4 separate regions of the Homo sapiens genome follow, and regions 2, 3 and 4 are each linked to region 1. The links are contacts of gene promoters, found by promoter capture Hi-C in blood cells and fetal thymus (Javierre and others, 2016). All regions are on one chromosome and are shown on one strand. The core of a region is centred on a gene start or on the middle of the fragment in contact, and the rest is flanking DNA. Distances in the headings are between cores, read along the strand shown.

Evidence for each region. The method cuts DNA at HindIII sites, captures the fragments that hold promoters and counts their contacts. A CHiCAGO score of 5 or more calls a contact.
Region 2: a contact is called between the fragment with the promoter of MTUS2-AS1 here and the fragment with the promoter of TEX26-AS1 in region 1, in 8 of 17 cell types (naive CD8 T cells, fetal thymus, total CD8 T cells and 5 more). The highest score is 12.7, in naive CD8 T cells.
Region 3: a contact is called between the fragment with the promoter of SLC7A1 here and the fragment with the promoter of TEX26-AS1 in region 1, in 4 of 17 cell types (neutrophils, total B cells, total CD4 T cells and 1 more). The highest score is 12.9, in neutrophils.
Region 4: the fragment with the promoter of UBL3 here is called in contact with the fragment with the promoter of TEX26-AS1 in region 1 in 2 of 17 cell types (endothelial precursors and M0 macrophages); the score reaches 7.0 in endothelial precursors.

The regions. Positions count from the first base shown.
Region 1 is chr13:30,930,488-30,935,561 of GRCh38, reverse strand. TEX26-AS1 (TEX26 antisense RNA 1) reads left to right here and starts at 2,954. Exons shown (of 4, transcript NR_038287.1): 1 at 2,954-4,316; 2 at 4,688-4,761. TEX26 (testis expressed 26) reads right to left here and starts at 2,906. Exons shown (of 7, transcript NM_152325.3): 1 at 2,786-2,906. The coding sequence starts at 2,846. The HindIII fragment of the contact is 4,425 bases long and covers 1-3,734 here.
Region 2 is chr13:29,485,378-29,490,451 of GRCh38, reverse strand. MTUS2-AS1 (MTUS2 antisense RNA 1) reads left to right here and starts at 2,702. Exons shown (of 3, transcript NR_046378.1): 1 at 2,702-2,952. MTUS2 (microtubule associated scaffold protein 2) reads right to left here. Exons shown (of 16, transcript NM_001033602.4): 11 at 2,447-2,552. The HindIII fragment of the contact is 24,751 bases long and covers 1-5,074 here.
Region 3 is chr13:29,593,212-29,598,285 of GRCh38, reverse strand. It overlaps SLC7A1 (solute carrier family 7 member 1), which reads left to right and starts at 2,598. Exons shown (of 13, transcript NM_003045.5): 1 at 2,598-2,870. RefSeq lists silencers at 2,232-3,471, 3,640-3,934 and enhancers at 3,582-3,711, 4,801-5,074. The HindIII fragment of the contact is 14,376 bases long and covers 1,863-5,074 here.
Region 4 is chr13:29,847,722-29,852,795 of GRCh38, reverse strand. It overlaps UBL3 (ubiquitin like 3), which reads left to right and starts at 2,179. Exons shown (of 5, transcript NM_007106.4): 1 at 2,179-3,284. The coding sequence starts at 3,258. RefSeq lists silencers at 2,024-2,133, 2,404-2,703 and enhancers at 2,264-2,333, 3,004-3,073, 3,544-3,613. The HindIII fragment of the contact is 5,102 bases long and covers 1-4,945 here.

The sequences.
Region 1 (5,074 bases), core at 1,705-4,204:
TCATCTCCAGCTATCAGCAGAGAGCATACTCCTCTACAGCGGGGGGTTCCCTTGTCTCTCCCTGCCCTCTTCATTCTCTGGCTGCTGTCCTCTTCCCTGCTCTGGCTGAGCCCAGGGTTTTTATGGACTTCAGAGGGAAGGAAGTGCATGCTGATTGGTCCATGGGTGGCCATGCGCAGGCTGGAGGAGGCAGCATGAGTCCCCACTCAGATTCCTGACTGGCAGCCTGGTCCCCAGACTTCAGGCCCTCCCTGGTCAGAGGGTGGGGCCTTACTGGGGACCCCAGCCCCTTCCACCCAGGACTCTGTCTGCCTCCTGCTGCCATTCACAGCCCTGGGGCTTGGTCCCAACCCCACTCTGAGATCAGAGCCAGTGGAGAGAGGCCAGGCAGTGGGAGCAGATACCCTTTAGCCTGCAGGGATGTGGGTGGGGTATTGCCTGGCAGTGGGATCAGATACCCCTGAGCCTGCAGGGATGGATGGGTGAAGGGTGTCCTTCCTGGGGAGTCCAAGGGTGCAGGCTGCAGAGATGCCCAGGTCCTGTGCCTGGGAGGGCAGCTGCAGCTGCACCAGGGAGCTCTTGCCCCACCAACTTGGAAGAGGCAAAGCTCCCACTTGTCCCTGGCTCCTGCCTGCTTCATGGAGTGAAAGGCCCAGGTCTGCAGCCGTGGGTTCCACAGGGAGGCTCAGAGGCACAGGGAGGCTCAGACCCACAGCCGCAGTTTGGGTGGCTGTAGCCTCGCCCAGGACTGCAGGGCTCCTGCTTGCTCCATAGAGCAGGAGGCCTGGGTCTGTAGCTGCAGTTTGGGCGGCTGTAGCGGCACAGGGAGCTCCCATCCCAACTCAGAAGGGGCAGCTCCCACGGGCTCCATGGAGTGTTGCAGCCCCAGCTGTGCTTCCCTGCTGCAGCCAGCATGATGGCAGCAGCCACTGCCATCACTAGCAGTGCCGATGGCTACCTGAAGCTGGAAGACGTAAGGACCACTTCTCCCCTAGGGCCTGTAGAGGGAGTGCAGACTTGTCCAGACCTTGATTTCAGGCTCTCGACCTTCAGAGCTGTGAGCAAATACATTTTTGTTGTTTGAATCCACCAGTCTGTGGGAACACATAGCAGCCACAGGAAACTAATACAACACCTGAGAGCCCCATCTGTAGTAATTATTCAATAACAGTTAGTCATCAGTCACCATCAACCTCATCCTATTTCGGACCAAACCTGGGCAGTGGGGACACATCAAGCCTACCATTTGGAGGGTGACTCTCCCAGCAGTGGGGAATGAAGTGGCACAGAGTAGCCATTAGAGGCCCAAGCCTGGAGGTAAAGGGGCGAATTCACCTGGGGGAAAAAGAGCTTTGGAGGCAGAATCAAAGAGACCTGGTGATCAAACTGCAGTCTCAAGGAAGCTGCCTTCCCTTCTAAATTGAGCAGCTAGGACCCTCTTAACTGAACTCTCAAAGTCTGGAAGGTTTGAGGAGGACAAGGAGTGTGATTTTGCACATGTCAAGTTGGAGGCCCTGCTGTGACACCCACATGGAACTGTCTGGTAGACAGTTAGATATTCTGGTCTGAAAAAGTAGGAAGAAAGTCCAAGTCAGAGATAAAGGTTAGAGAGTTGTTGGCACCTTTATGCAGCACTTGAAGCCCTGTGCAGGATATGGTCACAAAGAGAAGGTAAGCCTAGAAGGATCAATCCTGGGGGACTCCAACAGTTCCCAGACAAGAAGGGGATGAAATGGGGAGACAGTGGGAAAACAGGGTGGTTAGAAAGGGAAGAGAAGCATCCAAAGGGGTGCTGTCGGGATGCTAGGAGGGGATCCTCCCTCCTCTGTCTCTCCTGTTTGCCTTCCCATCATATAGAAACTGAGTGTATTAGATATTTTCTGCACTAATTAAGTATTTTCATTTTCCATTCTTAATTTACAACGGAATGAATTGGAATGAAAATATGCATTTCATTCACTCTTTTGGGAGCACAATTCTAGGGAATTTGTACTTGAACAATCCTTCACTGCTCCATAGCCACTGTGGAATCACAGTTACCCAACTATACAGCAGCAATGGCCAATTATTGCCACAAGAGACTATGATGGAGCTGACTACACGGTAATCATGCCACTAGCGTCACAGCTAGAGTGGTTCTCCCTCCACAGACCCAAAAGGCTGAACTGGTGAACCTGCTGCATCTGTGGGCAGAATTAGGATGAAAAGCACTACCTCTGTGAAATACAAAATCTCTGTGGAAGAAAAATCAATTCAGGTTAGAGGCGGCAGCTGAAGGCCATGGCTCCCAGCCTGGTGCGACAGCCCAGGGAGGGCGTCTGCCTCTGCAGACACAGCTGGGACTCCATTCAGCAGCCAACCCTTCCCCCACTTTCCTTGCTGTTTCCAAGATCCTATATGGGGATCGGGACTCAGGCAGGACCTGTTCTCTTCAGAGCTTCCAGGACTTCTCTTTCTTCTTTGCCTTTGGCCCTGTTTTCCTTGGAAAATCACCAGTTCTTCCTTTTTTCCTGTCCCCTCTTAGCCAGGCACTTCCTCGAGTGTTTAAAAACCCTGCGCGTTTTAGGGAGCGGGGATTTGGCAAAGGTTATGCGAAGGACTGAAAAGGGGCAGCGTCATGAAGGCCCTGTCATTCTCCCTGACTCCCCGTCTTTTCCTCAGTTGAGCATACTCCTAAGAGCGATGCCACACCCTTAAATACTAAGGCCCCTTTTTCTCAACAGGACCCTTTCCCCGGGAAAGACCCCAGCCCCGCCCCGCAGACCGGCAGAGTCTGCTGTCTTACTTGGCTGGAGGTTGTGGTGGCAGAGAGAGGGATCCGGAGCCCTGGGCCCAGGCTGTTCCATTCTGCCCCAGGAGGCGGCCGCGGGGCCCTGGCTCCAGCTATCTCAGCGCTTGCGGGAGCCGCGGGCTGCTTTGTGACGCGTCGCCATGGAGACAAGGATCGGGTTCCAGGGAGTTCTGCCCCTGCCAAGGGGTGCTGGCCACGCAGGAGGCTTAACCTGGCCGGCGCGGGAATGGGGTGCAGAGAGCAAAGAAATGTGGCTTTGATCTTATGGATGCCTTACTTTTACATTATTTGTACAGTTCTTGCAGTGAGCTTTCCGGACCACTGTCTTGTATGTTTCCTAAGAAAAGCAAAAAGGGAAGAGATTGAAGAGAAAGTAGATTTTCAACTACAAACTTTCATCCATTTGCTTTCAGCTTAAGCAAATGTGCGCAAAGTTGTCATGGATTTTTGCAGTCAATAAAAACCAAGCAAGAAGACTGAATCCCAAGTCATCTGGTATAAATGGAAGCAGTTTCTGTGATAGTTCCACGCGGTCAGAAGGGTCATCCTGGCTTAGGAGAGGGGCAGAAGAGGAAATGCACGCGTGGAAACAGGAGTGGGCAGGGAGGATGTGACACTGTCCTCCTCACCAGGCCACGTTCCTGGCACCAACCATAGTGTTTGTGAGGGTCAATTTAATTGTTCTTGTGCTCTCATAGAGGAAGCTGTGTCTTTCATCCCCTTGTAAGAGTTTTCACTGATGAAGGGGGTCTTTTATCTTCATATCTTGGGAACTACTGAAACTGTTTCAAAGAGTCAAAGACACCAATAACTAACAGAAATTCTTGTTTTCAGGGGCAGATAAGAAAAGAAACAATTTGCTGAAACTCCCTCTGCTTATAACAAAACTGACTGAAATCAGCCGGAATCAATATGGCCAAATGCAGTTTGCGCACAGCAAGCTTGCTGATGTCACAGCCTGAATTTCTACTGCATGTTTCATACCAACTCCCTCCAAATTTGCACATGGGACCCACCAGGAAGCATGAAGAGAGAGCCATGCATGCCTGAAGACTTCCCAGATGTTCCCTTTGCTTCCACCAATCACCTGCTAACCCCAGGATCCAACCCTAAACCTTTTGTAATAAAATTACTGCCCTAAAGCCAGTACAAGACAGATTTGAACTGGACTTTTGTTTCCTCAGAAGTTAACTTGCAATGTGAAGCTTTCCTTTTCTCAAAAACTTGGTGTCATAGTGTTGGCTTCTAGTGCAGTGAGCCCCTTTTGCTGGATAACCTTACCTGGTAATTTGACATACTAGGTGGTTAGTAACTACTGACTGTCTCCAGGTTACAACACAGTTATTACCCACTTGGGTGAAAAGAGAAGACAGGAAATACATTTTGGAGTTGGCTGGCAACCTGTTTACAAAGCAATTTACAACAGTTCCTTATTCTTAAGGGGCTATTCTAATACAAGACCTCAGAGAAACAGTGCAGTGTGACAAAGGAGGAATTTATCAAAGGAGACAGAAAAAGCATCAAGGTAAGGATCCCAAATATATGTGCAAGGAATGTCTTTAAAATGAAGAGCTAAACTAGAATTTCCTGAAGGTAGAGTTCTATCCATATAATGGAATGAATATAACACATTATAAACTCTCATGTTTTGAAGCAATGGAGGGTGGAACACATTAGAAGGCATAGATGTTATTAAAAGGAATGAGTCTAAATTAGGATTTAGTAGTGGCATCTAAATTTAAAAAGTAGCACCCAATAACAGATTACTGTCTGGAAATGGTAGAGCTAATTAGCATAGCATAATTTAAGAGAAATATATGTTTAAAATAGAGCAGCAAGTATATAGAATTTTGAAAGTGAATTCTTATTAATATCTTACAATTTGTCTCATTTTAGGCAAGCTGTGAAATGGTGCGGTAGGAACCAAATAGAGAGCCAAAGGATCTTTCTGTCACTGCAGGCCCTTAGGGGTAAGCAAATCCTTCCCTGATCCCTGGTCTCCTTATCTGTAAATGAGAATACCAGCACCCACCTCACTGTGCTGTAAACATGATGAGTTCTAACAATAATTTATAAATTGTAAAATCACACAAATCTAAGATATTGCTCTTGTTGCTATTCTGATCTTCATTCCTTTTATAGTCTTTCTACTTCAAAGTGTATTTTTGCGTGGGTCCATTTTATGGCTAGCGGTATAGCACTATTCCTGCCTTTGAATTCTGGTTGCCTGAGGCAACCCTTCTAAATGATTAAGTAGAGTATTTCCCCCCTGCTTTCTTCTCT
Region 2 (5,074 bases), core at 1,453-3,952, 1.4 Mb after region 1:
ATTCTGGCTACACAAGCAATTTGTTTTCATGTTATAATGAGAGGGAAGAGGGTCTCATTAATCGGCCTGCATCATATGCTCAGAATGGTAGCGTACTGGAGGCCGACAATTACCATTCTGGGTGGCGTGTGCTGCAATTAGGAAAAACTTTGTGGTTTTCATTGACCCAAATCTTTTAACTAATGGTGGTAAGGGTCACTAAGAAATCCAGTTGTTATAGCTGACGTTTACATTTGGAAAAGAAATGTTTGTGTTGATTTCATTGATAGAGAACCATATGGCCTTTCCGGTCTGCCTGCCTCTGACTAAATGATTAGTGTTACAGTCATCGAGAGCAGCATCCTGACCATAATAATAAATTTTTTAGCTACCATTACCTACACGCACATGGCCTTGACATCATTTATAATTCAAAGACCTGGAATGTGGTGTCTGAGTGAGACTTCGTTAGTCAGAAAAATCCACCAGATTTATGTGAAAATCCAGAAAGAAAAGGCAACACCATGGCTCACTGCACCATTTCCACTCACGTTCTTTCTTGTGAGACCAGCTTCCTCTAGTGACAGATTTCAGGGCGTTTTCAAAGGATCCCAATGCCCCAAGGGAAAAGAAGAGGCAGTATCCATTCTGAAGATGACATAAACCATTGCTAACTGTGTCTTCATCATGTATTTCTTTATTTCAAGCTCATGACACTGTCTCACGCTTAATACGGTGTTTAACACAATGGTCCTCAAGTTTTCCTGCGTATTAGAATCACCTAGGGAGTTTTAAAGCCTTCTGATGCCTGGGCTGCACCCCAGAGCAATTAAATTGGAATATCAGAGGTAAGAGCCACACATCAGTATATTTTTAAAAACTTCCAGGTGGTTCCAATGTGTAGCCGAGGGTAGAGACCAGTACTCTCAGTGTGAAACACACTACCAGGACCGAGGCAATCCATTTAACTAGTCCCCAGGAAAATACCATCCCTTGCCTCCAGCTTGGTCACTTACTAATAGTTCCCAGAGGTAGTGGGGGTGGTGCTTGAGGGTGACAATAACACAGACCTTGGTTATGGCACACTGGGTCTTGTTCACAGAGAACATTTTAACAATAATAAAAACTCTGATGCTAATTCTCAAATTGTAAAAGTTTATCAATGTATTGTTAACTGTCATTGCTTTTAATACACACTTTTTTTTTGAGGCGGAGTTTCGCTCTTGTTGCTGGAGTGCAATGGCGCAATCTTGACTCACTGCAACCTCTGCCTCCCAGGGTTCAGGCGATTCTCCTGCCTCAACCTCCCGTGTAGCCAGCCCACCGCGCCTGGCTAATTTTTGTATTTTTGGTAGAGACGGGGTTTTGCCATGTTTGCCAGGCTGGTCTTGAACTCCTGACCTCAGGTGATCCACCTGCCTCAGCCTCCCAAAGTGCTGGGATTACGGGTGTGAGCCACGGCTCCCGGCCTTTAATACACACTTTAACAACCAGCTGACTGGGAGGGAAAAGTAAAGCGAGAGAAAGTTGAAAAATAAACTGTACATATTAATGTAAATGCATGTGAAAGTGTAAAATGCTGCCTCTTTCACAAAGGAAAATCTCACTGGAACTTAGTAATGATGCTGTTATGACCCACGTAAAACCCAAAGATAATTCAAAGTTACAAAAATGTAGAAAGAAAGATCTGGAGACTTAACGCACACCCACGGTGAATGTGGTCTATGAGTGTAAGCTCTGGATACCCCGATCCAACCAGATGCTGCAGTGGCCCGGAGAACATCATAAATATGAAGAAAGTGTATCCATGCCGGGGCTTCCATTTGTTTTTATAAGGCAATAAACATCATAAAGCCTAGCCGGGTGTGGTAGTGGGCACCTGTAATCCCAGCTACTCGGGCTGGAGGCTCCAGCTGGGGCTGGAGAATCGCTTGAACCCAGGAGGCAGAAGTTTCAGTGAGCTGAGATCGCACCACTGCACTCCAGCCTGGGCAACAAAGTGAGACTCTGTCTCAAAAAAAAAAAAAAAAAAAAAGAGGAAAAAAAAAAGTGCACGATTTCCATGCCTGCTTTAGACAGTGGCCCTCAAGTGTGGCTACACATTAGAATCCCCTAAGGAGTCTTAAGAAATCTTGATGTTTACACTGCACTATGGACCAAGGACATCAGAATCCCTGGGGTGGGACTGAGGCTGGCATTGGTCTTTTGTTACCGCTCCCCAGGGGACGGGGAATTCCAGTATTCATCAAGGTTGAGGATAACTGCATTGGAGGAAAGAAGCAGCTAACTACCTGGATCCTTAATTCCTATCTCTTCTTTTCCCAGGAGCCAACAGGAAAAAATGCACCAGGAGGGAAAGACAGGAAAGGAGGGACAAGAGAGGAAGGGGGGCTCCACACATCTGCAGCAGGAAAGGCTCGGATTGCACCACCCACCCCTGCCTGCTGCACACGAGGCTGGGAGCTACCTTGGACTTTGTGGTCGTGGTCATCCTGCAGGATTGTGATGGCAACTGTGTGGTTATTTTCCATCTCTAGGAGAGCAGCATCATGGCTGGCGGTGAGATCTTCCACCTGGAGGAGAGTCGCAGTTACTGGTTAGACAGAGAGCTGCTTGGAGAACAGAAGTGGAATTCCGTGAGTGGAAAAGGTCCGTGACCCAAAACATCAATGACAAGTCACAGCCTTGTGCCGAAGCAGGAGAGCTGGACTTTGGTGGTGATGTGGCAGCCCTCGGAATCACGGGGAGGTCACTGCCACAACCTGGCTCTTTGTAGGGGGGTCCAACTCCAGGCAGGGGATCACTGCCTGAGGTACCTCTTTAGAGTCCTGAGTGTGGCTCCTGGACCATCCCCTTCCCACTGCTTGTCCACGCGCTTGCACCGCTATGAGCGATGACGGCAAAGGAAAAGAAAAGCGTCCTCCCTACGAGGTGGTCTGTTTCCCAGTGGCAGGGGGAGCTACGGTACACAAGGTAAGTGGAGGGAACGAATACTTATTAGGCTGTCCGAGATAGGCTACTCTACTTAACCCTCAGAGCCACCTTATGAAGTATATCTTTTTATGCCCAATTGACAGATGTGGAAACTGAGGCTAAGAGAAATATGAAACGTTTTGCCCAAGGGCTAATAAATGGCAGAGCTAACAGTGAGACCCAGGTCTGTCTGACTCCAAAGGCGAGGCTCTTTCTAATGCACTGTTGTTTTGTGTTCACCTCCCCCAAGCAAGACTAGCAACGAACACCTTAGGATTCTCTCGCCAATACCAGGTGAGGCTGGCAGGTCTGTGTGTCTGTTTTTAAACATAAGGTTGCCCACCAGATTATAACTTGGACCTTCTGCTCAGGCAATGTGGTGCTCCTGGGAAGGGCTGCTGCCTCCCAGCTGCAGGAACACGTCTAGCAGTTTAATCGCAAGTAGTGCAGCCAGTCCAGTCCAGGATTCTTCATTTTCATGTTTCCTGACCCCCTCCCCTACCCCTCACCTGCCTGCCTACCAGGTTTACTGTTTTTGTTATTGTCATTGTGGCTGTTGTTTTAACTTCAAATGTATGACTTGCAGGAGTAATTGTCTAAAACGACCTCTCCCTATGATTGCAAATCTCTCCTGGATGCACTACAACGGTGTTTATCCAAATTCTCTGTCAGTGATCCACTGTAAAAATCACCATTGTACACAATATCACAGTGCACACACCCACACACAACCATACCCAAAACCAAAGTTTCACAAAAACAAAACTTCCCCTTCCATTTGGAAAAATCTGGTTTAAAAATGTTTCCTCTATTTTACTTTGTTTTACAAAACGCTAGTTAGAGGCCACTACATTTATTTCACAAGCTAATAATGCATCAAAACTTGGCATTTGAAAACCACTGAACTAGAAAATGTGCACTGGTCTTGAAGCTCCTTGGTGGCCCAGTTAAGAAGACATTGCTTCTAGCTGGTCATATTCAGCCACCTCTGGGCTCCCACATTTCTCTGGGGGAGAATTCACAGGCTAACCTTTGATCTGAATGGAGAAAGGGCTCTCCCCAAGAAAGGAAGCCTGACTGTGAAGTTGACACGTGAGGATATATTTGTTTTAAAAAAGGGTGGTTTCCCATTCTGCATACTATAATTTCATCAAACAATTATCCTGACTTCTCTCTCTTATGGTAAATGAGAACTTCATCCACTAAAACAAATATCACTGAGCAAAACCTACAGCAGACCCATGGCATTAGGAAAGCTGCATCGCAGTGTGAGAACGGACGTGGTGCACAATGGCTCACTCCCATTTAAAGGCCATTCTTGATCAAACCGTATTTACTTGAAGCTCAGAGCTATGAACCCACCAGGAGAAAGGCTGATTACAACAGTATTTAATTGTCCAATTCCTGTTTATAGGAGGTTTTCATGGAATCTTTGTCCAAAACCTTTCAATCTGTTGGAAAAATAAATCACTGGTTTAAAAAAGGAAATATCTTTTCTTTCTGCTCCATTACAGGTGTCACTTAGGCCATGGCACACTGTAAAAACACAGGCCCCCGCTTCCCCCGCCCCCACCCCACACACTGTTTGGAGGGTTGCTACACAGTTCAGGAGAGCAAAAAACCTTTCATCGGCCCTTGGCGTGATTCTAATTTATTCGGTGCTTACACAAATGATCATGAGTGGTTTCAGAAAAGACAGACAGATGGAAGAACTAAGTTTCAGAAGAGTCCCATGAGTCCCAGGAGGTGGATGTGCCCTGACTGGCAGTACTACACTGTGTTTGTGGCATCAATGTATGCCATTCTGGCTTGCTGGAAGGTATGCCTTTGAGTCATTGGTGATGGAATACCACGCCCATTGTATTAAGGGTAATGTAATGGCATGATATATTCCTTACAACCTTTCCGAGGTGCTTTTATGAATGAAATACTGACCTCTTAACTCCAAAAGTTCATATGGAATTAGAGAAATGCCCAGTATGTTAGGAAGGAAACTAATGGGAGCCCATGAGTCAAAAAATCTGAACACAATAATCCCCGCTCTTTAGTAATTCAGGTTTCATGCAACTTTATGGTTTTTAAAAAATGTTATCTCAAAGAGGAAGGAGCTGTCTACTGTTGG
Region 3 (5,074 bases), core at 1,349-3,848, 1.3 Mb after region 1:
GCTAAACGGAGCACAGTGCTAAAAATCTCCTGGGTTAAATGTCACCATACTCCCATCAGGGCCTGGAGCACTTGCTCTCAGAATTTACAAACATTAACTCATGTTGGCGCTCTGTGTTGCCCAAGGAGAGCATCTCTACAATTTATGAAATTCTATTTTACTGCCAGAAGTCAGCAAAGAGAAAAAGAAAGAAAGAGAGGCAGAAAGAGAAAATTCCACAGTCATATTTCAAACACCAAGGGATAGATTTTTTTCTTAAGAATATAAGATTTACAAGCTCCAAACAGGAGTGAAATAGTTTGCAGAAGCTCTCACAGCAAATGAACTGGTAGAGTTCAGATTCAAATCCTGATCTGGTGCCAAGGGCAAAGCAGGTGGTCTTTAATCCTACCAGGCTTCTCTCTGTGAGAAGGGGACATGCTTACTGTGGCCTCAGCAGACAGAGTAGGCTGCGTGGGATCTGGGAGATCTTCTGTGAATGGAAGGCATCATTTCACCACTGTGCAATTGAACTAAGATACATTGTTTTATTTATTTTTTATTGATTTTTATTATTATTTTTTTGAGACGGAGTCTCGCTCTGTCACCAGGCTGGGGCGCAGTGGTGCGATCTTGGCTCACTGCAACCGCCGCCTCCTGGGTTCAAGTGATTCTCCTGCCTCAGCCTCCCGAGTAGTTGGGACTACAGGCGTGCGCTACCACGCCCAGATCATTTTTGTATTTTCAGTAGAGACGGGGTTTCACCATGTTGGCCAGGATGGTGTCAATCTGCTGACCTCATGATCTGCCTGCCTTGCCCTCCCAAAGTGCTGGATTACAGGCGTGAGCCACCGTGACAGGCCAGATTTGTTGCTTTAAAACAAAGCATATATGGTGGCTTACTATGATGTCAAGCACTGTTCAAAGCACATTACAAAGCTGGGCAGGATGGTGCTCGCCTATATTTCCAGCTACTGGGGAAGCTAAAGTGAGGCGATCGCTTGAGCCTAGGAGTTCAAGGCTGCAGTGAGCTATGATGTTGCCACTGCACTCCAACTTGGTGACAGAGTGAGACCCACTCTCTAAAACAAAGACAAAAACACATTTTACAACTGCTAAGCCATCTGCATGTGTTCATTAAAACTTTTTCTGGGGACTTTTTCTGGCTCATCCCTGTAGTCCCGATGCTAGGGGAGGTTGAGGCAAAATGATCGCTAGACAGCTGGTATTTGAGGCCAGCCTATGCAACATATCAAAAACCCGTGTCTATATGTAGAAAAAATATTAACTAGGCGTGATGACACAAGCCTGTAGTTCCATCTGCTTGGGAGGCTGAGGCAGGAGGATGGCTTGAGCCTGGGAATTTGAAGTTCCAGTGAGCTATGATTGTACCGCTGCATTCCAGCCTGGGTGACAGAGTGAGACCCCTGTCTCTAAAAAACAAACAAATGACAACAGCAACAACAACAGAACACTTTTTCTGAAGCTAGCACCATGCAGTTATGTACTTTATAAATTGCTAGTCTAATTCCAAGGGAATAGTTCAGCAGCTGATATTTGAGAAGGACCTGTAGAAAGGATTCAAAGACCACGGACACCGTCCACTGTTTTTCTGTTTTCCTATAAGATAGAAGAAGGATGGCATTATTAATTTATGCCCTGTTTACCTATCCCAAGTCCCAGATCACTGGATCTTTAAAGATTATGATTCTCGCTTGGCTTTTGGTACAAAAGGAGACAAGGAGGGAGCTTAAAAGGTGAGCACGGTGTGATTCAGGACTGAAGCTTCTGCCACTTCCTGGGGGGTAACTGCAAAAGTGAGCCGTTCTGACTAGCCGTTTGTGCATTTGCCACTGCCAAGGGGGCACAGGTAGATTCAAGCTTTGGGGCTCTTCTGACAACTGGCAAGGATAAGGTATTAGCAAGGGCAAAGGAATAGTAATAAAATAATCCAATAACAAAGACATGAAGATTTATAATAATTTTTAGGCCGGTGCAGTGTTTCAGGACTGTAATCCTAGGGCGCTTTGGGAGGCCCAGGCGGGAGGATCGCTTGAGGCCAGGATTTCGAGGTTAAGGTGAACTGCGCTCCAGCCTGGGCAATAGAGTAACACCCTGTCTCTAAAATGAAAAGAAAACAGTTTAAACCTTTTAAGTGCATACCAAATCTTTTATTTTGGAGAAGGAAAACTGGTCTCGAGTTCCGTGTGAGCTCCCTGGGGCCCGCCGGGAGGGGGTTGGCACGGCCGGACCTGCAGCACTAGTTCTGGCCAGGGCGCTGTGGGATCTGCAGGGGACCACAGGATGCTGTGGCGCGGTGCGCTCAGATTGGCGGAGAAACGGCCACACGCCTACGGAGCTACTGAGAAGGCGAGCGGAGGCGCAGCCCGCCCGCCCGCCGCGGGAACCCCAGGTTGGGGCGCTGGGCGCGCGAAGACTCAGCCGCCCCGCCCACCAAGGGCGCGTCGGTCCCCGGCCGCAGCCTCTGGGCTGGCAGCCGCCGCCGCGCCGCGCTCCCATTGGTGCCCGGCGGTGACGCGGCCGAGCGGGCCGGGGCTGCCTGGTCCGGGGGCGGGCGTGGGGCGCGGGGCGCGGAGCGCGAGGGGCGGGGGCCGGGCGCACTGCTGATGAAACCTGGCGCCGGAACCCGCCAGCCCTCGGCGCCCATTCAGTCCGCGCAGGCAGGTGTGAGCAGCGGGTCAACTACCTGGCAGGCGCGCACGCGGCCGCGGGCTCCCGCTAACCGCAGCCTCCACTCCTCTCCCCGCGCGCCGCGCCCCCGCCCCGCCCCGCCCCGCCCGGTCTCGCCGGCCGAGCGTCCGTTGGTCCTTGAGCGCGTCCGACAGTCTGTCTGTTCGCGATCCTGCCGGAGCCCCGCCGCCGCCGGCTTGGTGAGTGCCCGGCCCCGCCAACGCAGGGGGCAGCTCCTTGGGCCCGGGTCATCACGGAGGGGGCCCTGGCGCCGCGTGGGGCCGCGGCAGGGCGGCGCGGGAGTGGCGAGGGCCCCCGCGCCGGGAACGCTGCCATCCTCTGGGAAGGGCCAGGACCAGGGCCGGGCGGGCCCCGGAGTGGGCGAGCGGGGCTGGTGCCCATGCGACTGTCGCCTCCACGGAGTCCATTTTGGCTCCCTGAAACCGCGGCGTGGTGCATGATGCAACACCGAGTGAGTAAGCGTGGGCGATCTGGCGATGCCCGCTCCGCGCGCCTGTCCGGGGACCCGCGCGCCGCTACGCACGGGGTGGTCGGGGTGCGTAGGCGGGCGGCGGGCACGGGGGCCAGACTGGGAGGCACACGGAGCCCGCCGGCGGCGAGGAGACCTTCCCTTACATGGCGCGGTGCAGAGCACCCCGCCCCGCCACGAGGTCCGGGGATGTGTCATCAGCCGTGGGTGGGGACTCTGCCCGGCCGCCCGGAGGGTGGTCCCGCGGCAGGTGGCCGGCCCAGGGACTCTGCTGCCATCCCCGCCCGGTGGCCGCCCTGACCTAGGGCGCCTGGCTCTCCGCTTGTCCCTAGAACCCGGGACGCGCCGCCTGCACCTCTCGTCTGGGTCCCCAAGATTGCTTTGAGGAAGTCTCCCCTAGGTGGGCTTCCTTGTGACCCAGTGTGGCCTGGAAAGGCCGGGTTCCTCAAGCCCTCCACATGGTTTGGAATGAGAGGAAGTTCTTCCGCCTTTAGCAAGACACCGTATTCTCAGGGTGTTCCTTTCTGCGTAGTAGAAAACTTCCCAGGCATGGGCAGGTCAGAGTCATTCTAAAACCTGCGCGTACACAGAGCGGCAGCTGCACTGTAGTACTACAACAGCCTGCTGGTTCAGCTCCTGACCCTTTCCAGGGGATGGGGGAACCAGACAGCAGTTGTGTTTGACTTGTGTGACTAGGATAGTCAGACATGTGCCTTCAGGAAAAAAATAAATAAATAACCTACATTTCCCAATACTCACGTCATCACCGCCATGCCCTCATGTGTTGGGTTTTAGTCCAGACATAGTTACCAGATGGTTGAGATTTCAATCCCAGGTGTATCTCCCTAAAGAATGTGCCTTTTATCTTACTTACATTCGACTAGTAGAATTGTGTATGTCGGCCTCTGGCCGAATGCCCTAATTGTATTTAATTCGAATTATAATTTATCTGGGATTTTTCCTAACATTTCTTGCCCTTTATGTTTGGTTCAGATAATAGGAAACCATGATACATTTATTCCTCTGGTATTTTTAGTTGATCTCAGTGGAAATTACCATGATTTTTATATGAACACACCCTCCTGTTATTAAAACAAAAGGTCTTATTTAAGTCACACGAACAGAATAGAAACTTAGGGGAAAGGTCAACAATAGATTAAAATGGTTTTAAAAATAGGTTTAGCATATTACGATCATGTTTAATTATTATAAAGGTAAAATTCAAAGGATGTCAAAGGAGTTTTGAGTAAAGAGGAAAGGGCTTAGTAAGTAGATCAGAAATGTACTCCCTTGTCTGGGTCTGGATCCTAGAGCCACGTGCTCCTGTACATATGATTACTTGCTTTAGGTGAAAAAAAAAAAGAAAGGCTTGAAAGACAAGACTGTTGACTTCAGGGAGTTACAATTTTCTATTTGGTAGAAGAACTCATTCTTTGATGGAATTAAATACGTGTTGATTGATTATTCTGGTCTGTAGTTTATTTTAACCAAAGTCCATACAAATAGATAATTATGTTGGAGGGCTCAGAATTATGTCCAATTAAATTAATCCTTTCTCATTATCAACCATGTATTTGGAGGGATTGCTATTAATCCTAGGGACAAATTTGAAATGTGAATAAGTGCATCCTTGTTATGGAGAAAAATATTGTTTCCCTCTAACCTTGGAGATACTTGAGTCTCGGAGTTATCTCTTCCAGAGGCATCTTCAGAGATGCCTATCACTCCACCTGCCTCTTGGTCCTCACTCCAAGCAAGACCTTCCGATAGGATGTGGTGTTTTTCTGTATAGTTGGCCCCTGCAGACCTGGATAGATTTTAAAGGCAGATCCAATAGGATTGGCCGGTGGATTCATGGAAGGACGAGAAAGGTCAAATATGACTCCAAGCACATCGGAGTTGCTGTATTAATGA
Region 4 (5,074 bases), core at 930-3,429, 1.1 Mb after region 1:
TGTCAAGAAGATGCTACCTTTTCCTGCTTGGGACAGCTGAACTCCTTTCTACAGCCTCCCACCTCACCCGCCTGAGCTGGGAAGCAAAGAGAAAAGAAAGAGTGGAAAAATCTGCAACTGTGTCCAATAATGTTACCTCATGCCTTAACAATGTTAGGGATGAGTTATAATGAGTTTTATTGAGAATAATGTCTCAGCCCCTCTTAGAAGAGTAATTGGAAACACAGCGACTTTTGAAAGACATTGCCTTTTGTAAAGGTGGCAGTGGTAACCTGCAGCAAACAGCAACTCTTGCCTTTCTACTTACAGTGGCACTTAGGCCCGGCAGTGCCATGGCCAGGCAGTGCCATGGCCAGGGAGGTCATTGGATAAAAGTTGGAGTCAAGGGTATGGTGGAGGGACTAACTCTGTGAGTTAGAGCTTTCAAAATGTGCTCCAATATTCCTTCTGAGCTCATTGGTCAATTGAAGTATTTTCACCTGCCCTTATTTCCTGGGGGGCTGGTGTAGGGGTAGGGGGACTCTGTGGTTGCTAAACATTGCAAATGAGCAACCAAGTAACAAAGGCCATGGAAAATCACGTAACTATGGACTTGGAAATATCTAGACAAAGTCCTGAAGCCTAATCACAGTGAGATTTGGGCCTCTCTTCTCTTCTGGCCTTTGGTTTTTCGGAGAATTTGATCTATCTTCCTCAGGGTGATATAGGCCCTTAGGAGTGTTTGGAATTTCTCCACCCAGGCTACTCAAGAGGCAGGTACTCTAAATGTCCTGTGGGTTTCCAACTGATGAGAAACCCAACTGGAGAGATTGCTGTGGGGAATCACGTAGGCTTCTAGACAATGAGCTCCCTGAGGACAGTGACTGGATTCTGCCTCTTTTCAACAGCCCTATAGACAAGGATGTAATAACCCCCATTGCCAACCCAAGACCTTGGCATTTCTGCCACATGATGCTGCTGTTCGCTACAGTGACTCATTTTTAAACTCCTAGTGCCTAGCAGAGTGCCTGGCACATTTGTTTGCTGAATGAGAGAATGAGTAGTGACATTTCATATCAAATGATGCATTATTATTTACAAAGTGATTTATTTCCCATGCATGAACTCATCCTCATAACTACCCCTACTTTACCCCGGAAGGTAGGCAAGACCATTTTACAGATGAGGTCACACAGCTGTAGGTTGGAGAGGTGGCTTTCAGACTCTAAATTCATTGGCATTTATATATAGGCATCATATTGAGACTGCCCTTTCTAAAGTACTCTGTCAAAGGACTAAGAGATATGAATAGGGATTCAGATGTTGACCTCAGATTTAGGAACAAAATGCAGAAATCACAAATGTCCATCTGAATGGTGTCTCAACAATGGCATTATTTTCTCCTATTTGCTAATCACTGCAAGGCATATAGGTTTTCAATTACATTATGAGTTACATAGAATAGAATTTAGGGTCCAGATGGGTAAACTGGTGAATCCCCATGAAGTTTGTAGTAGCTATTTCCTGATACAGATTTGATATAATAACACTGTTGTATGTAATACAGTTTTGGTAATTTCAGTTAAGTAGATTGTAGCTTTATTGCCCTGGGTCTTCAAGGAAACACATGTTCAAATATTCTCACTGCTTAATGAGATCCTTGTTCCTGTTGAACTTATGTGACCTTATTGGAAATCAATGATTGCTTTTGTTCTTCAAAATGTAATGTTGAGGAGACCTAGATGAAATCACTCTACAAAATGCATTGAGATTGCAGGATGTGGAGAATGTGCTGTAATTAAAATGAATGATTCTGCTTGGAGGTACAGCATATTTTAGCTCTGTGTGCATATCGTGCATAAGGGAATTTCTCTATGCAGAATTATTTTCTCCCAACAATTCTCATGATCACAGCACTCCTGGTAGCAGGTATCACTTAACTCCTGGGCAGCAGCTTGTCCAAAGCAAGGGAAAGGGAGCTTTCCTTTCCTCGCAACTGTTGCTATGGGGGGCGTGGCTTCGGAGCTGGGTGAGGAGGCGTTCGGCGGCTCCCTCCCCCCCCCACCCTCGTAGACTACACTTCCCGTGATGCTCGAGGGAATGGTCTCCGTGGTGACGCACTTGGTGTCCGCGGAGGGAGGACGAGGACGGGGGCGGCGGCTGCTGCGAGGGGGGGCCCGTGCTCTCCCCGTTTCCCTTAGTCGCACTCAGGCAGCCGCCGCCGCCGCCGCTGCCGCCATGTTGGTTTGAGAGGCGATGACAGGAGGCGGCCGCGGCGTGTGGGACTGAAAAGTGAAGGAGGAGGAGGAGAAACAAAGCTCTGAGAGGAAACCATTCCCGGGCTGAGGAGAAGGAGGACCCGGCCTCTTCCGGGGACCAGCCGAAGTCGGCGTCGCCCGGAGCTCGCGAGGCCGGGGAGGGGAGGGGAAGGGAAGGCGGAGACCGGGGAGGCGGCGGCGGGGAAGGCGGAGGCAGAAGAGGAGTGGCGAGGAGCCGGAGACGATGCGCCCCGACCCCAGCTGCTGTCCGGAGGCGCCCGCGGCCTGAGCCCAGAGGGGCTGTGGAGTGTCCCGGCCGGCCCCGAGCACCCCCGCGCTGTCGGTCCCCCGCTCCGGTCTTTCGCTTTGGCTTCCAACTAGTTAAATGCCCTTGAGCGCGGGTTTCCGCGGCCCGGCTCTTCGCCCCCGCGGCGCGAGTTGAGCCGTTTCCCCGCGCTGTCCGCGCGGGCGCTCCGACAGCGGCTCTGCAGGGTCCGCGGCCAGCGTCCGGCCACCGCTCGGCCGCCACTCAAGGCTCACGCGTCGATGTGTAGCTACATAGTTATCTGTGTACATCCACGCTGGGGCATTTTTCTCCTGCTTAATGAGGACTTGACTCGGGAGCAAGTGTGAATCATTGCCGGGGCTGGGAAAGGAGGAAGGCGCATTTAACCCCCTCCCACCCCTCTCCATGTCCGTGTGTCACTCGGCTCGGTCCACCTGGCGCGGCCGGTCCTGGGGCTGCTGCTGCTGTTGACGACGACGACGACGACGGGGGCTGCCTCTGCTGTCCCGGGAGTTTCCTCCTGCTCCGGCCACACAGCTCCTGGGGATTGTTCCTCTTCGAACCAGAACCTCGGCCTGACCGGCACTTTGGCTCCAAAATAACTTTATTTTTGGGGGAGAAAGCACATCACGAACCAGTCAAAATCGTGGTTTATTTCTGTAACGTGAAGACTTCTGCTCTTTTTTCTTTGTTTGTTTTTTTCGTAAACATCTGGGTGTATATCAAACGGCAAGATGTCCAGTAATGTCCCGGCGGATATGGTAAGTGACGGATAAGTTATGACACTGATTTAATTGTGGTTTCCAATCTTATTTAATCGGAAAGACGGCAGGCGTGGGGCGAAGATTTGCTGGGGACTGTCGAAAAGCCACTGTGCTGAGCGATTTGGAGAAGTTGGAGCTTCTGGTTTCCCCCTTTTAGGAAGTACTGCTTTTAATATGGGTTCTCTCATTTGGTCGTGTTTTCTAAAGCATTGAAGATAGTGGAGAAGTAGGGAAATGTATCATGGTAGCTTGAGGGGACAAAACATCTCCCTCTTCGCTAGAAGCCTCCGAACACTAGTATTTTAACGTTTCTGAAAACGTCAGGGACAGTGGGCAGAGCTGAGGACGGGTGTCCCTACGAGAGAATAGGTAGGGAAACGGGAATCTTGCTTTATGACACAGACGAGATCGTCATTGCAGTAGGGACGAACTTGATATTTTTCAAGAACAGGGATGCACATCTCTTCAAGAAAAAGTATGTTAGAATTTGCTGTGAGGTTTTTGAAATGTCTGAATACGGATGGCAACAGAAATATAAAGATATTTTGGGATTTTCAGAAACGTAGGCTGACCCTGTATTGGTACTTACAATGAATATTCCAGGGCTTTTTAATGCCAGATATTTATTAATAGTAGATTCCATATTAGACATAAAGCTAAGGAAACATAGTATTGAGCCTCGATCACTGAGTGTTGAGAACTTGAAACAAAAAGTACTGTTGTTTATTGACGCCTTTCTTTGTTTTGTTTATAAAGGGTAAGGTTGTGAGTCGGTTGACTAACAGTAACCGTGTAACCTTACAGTGCTGGGGCTGGGCTTGTGTGAGTGTGAAGTTACATTTTGCAGTCCTAAGGACAAACATAATGCATTTAATTACCAGGAAGAGGAATAATCCTGTTTATGAAAGAATTGAAGTTAACGTAGTTGTGCTCACATATGTTAACATTTGAGTGTTTGTGTATTCAGTGGAAACAAATTGAACTTTGCTGATGATTAAATTTTATTTTATTTTTTAATTTTAATTTAATTTTAATTTAATTTTTATTTTTTGAGACGGAGTTTTGCTCTTGTTGCCCAGGCTGGAGTGCAATGGCGCGATCTCGGCTCACTGCAACCTCTGCCTCCTGGGTTCAAGCGATTCTCCTGCCTCAGCCTCCCAAGTAACTGGGATTACAGGTGCCCACCACCACACCTGGCTAATTTTTTTTTTTTTTTTTTTTTTTTTTTGTGGAGACAGGGTTTCACCATGTTGGCCAGGCTGGTCTCAAACTCCTGACCTCAGATGATCCACCCATCTTGGCCTCCCAAAGTGCTGGGATTACAGGCGTGAGCCACTGCGCCCAGCCTGCTGATGATTAAATTTTAAAACGCCAGATGTTTCTAGAGGAGCAAACCTCATATACAGATTTTATAACAAAAATTAAATGATTCTAAATGGCTTATTTTGACCTTGGTTTAAAGGAATTTTGCTCTTGTTTAATTTCCCATTGAATGCAAAGGAAACACAGTGTTCTGTCTCTGGGGGTGGCCACATAACAGCTTTACAGTCTCCTTCCTGAGTCCTAAAACTCGTGCGTTGTCCTTTTAGTTTTCGCTTCTCTTCTGGTGTGCACACATGAAATAGCCTCCTGCCTGGTTAAGTACGGCTGGACAAGCTTTCCTCCATACTGCTCTTGAAGTTGCCGGGAGCGGTCTCTAGACAGAGCTGGGAAATGCTATTTCCCTTGTTTGATGAGTGATCTGTGGGTTCATCGCCTCGAGCAAAGATTTGCTCTCTCGAAAGCCT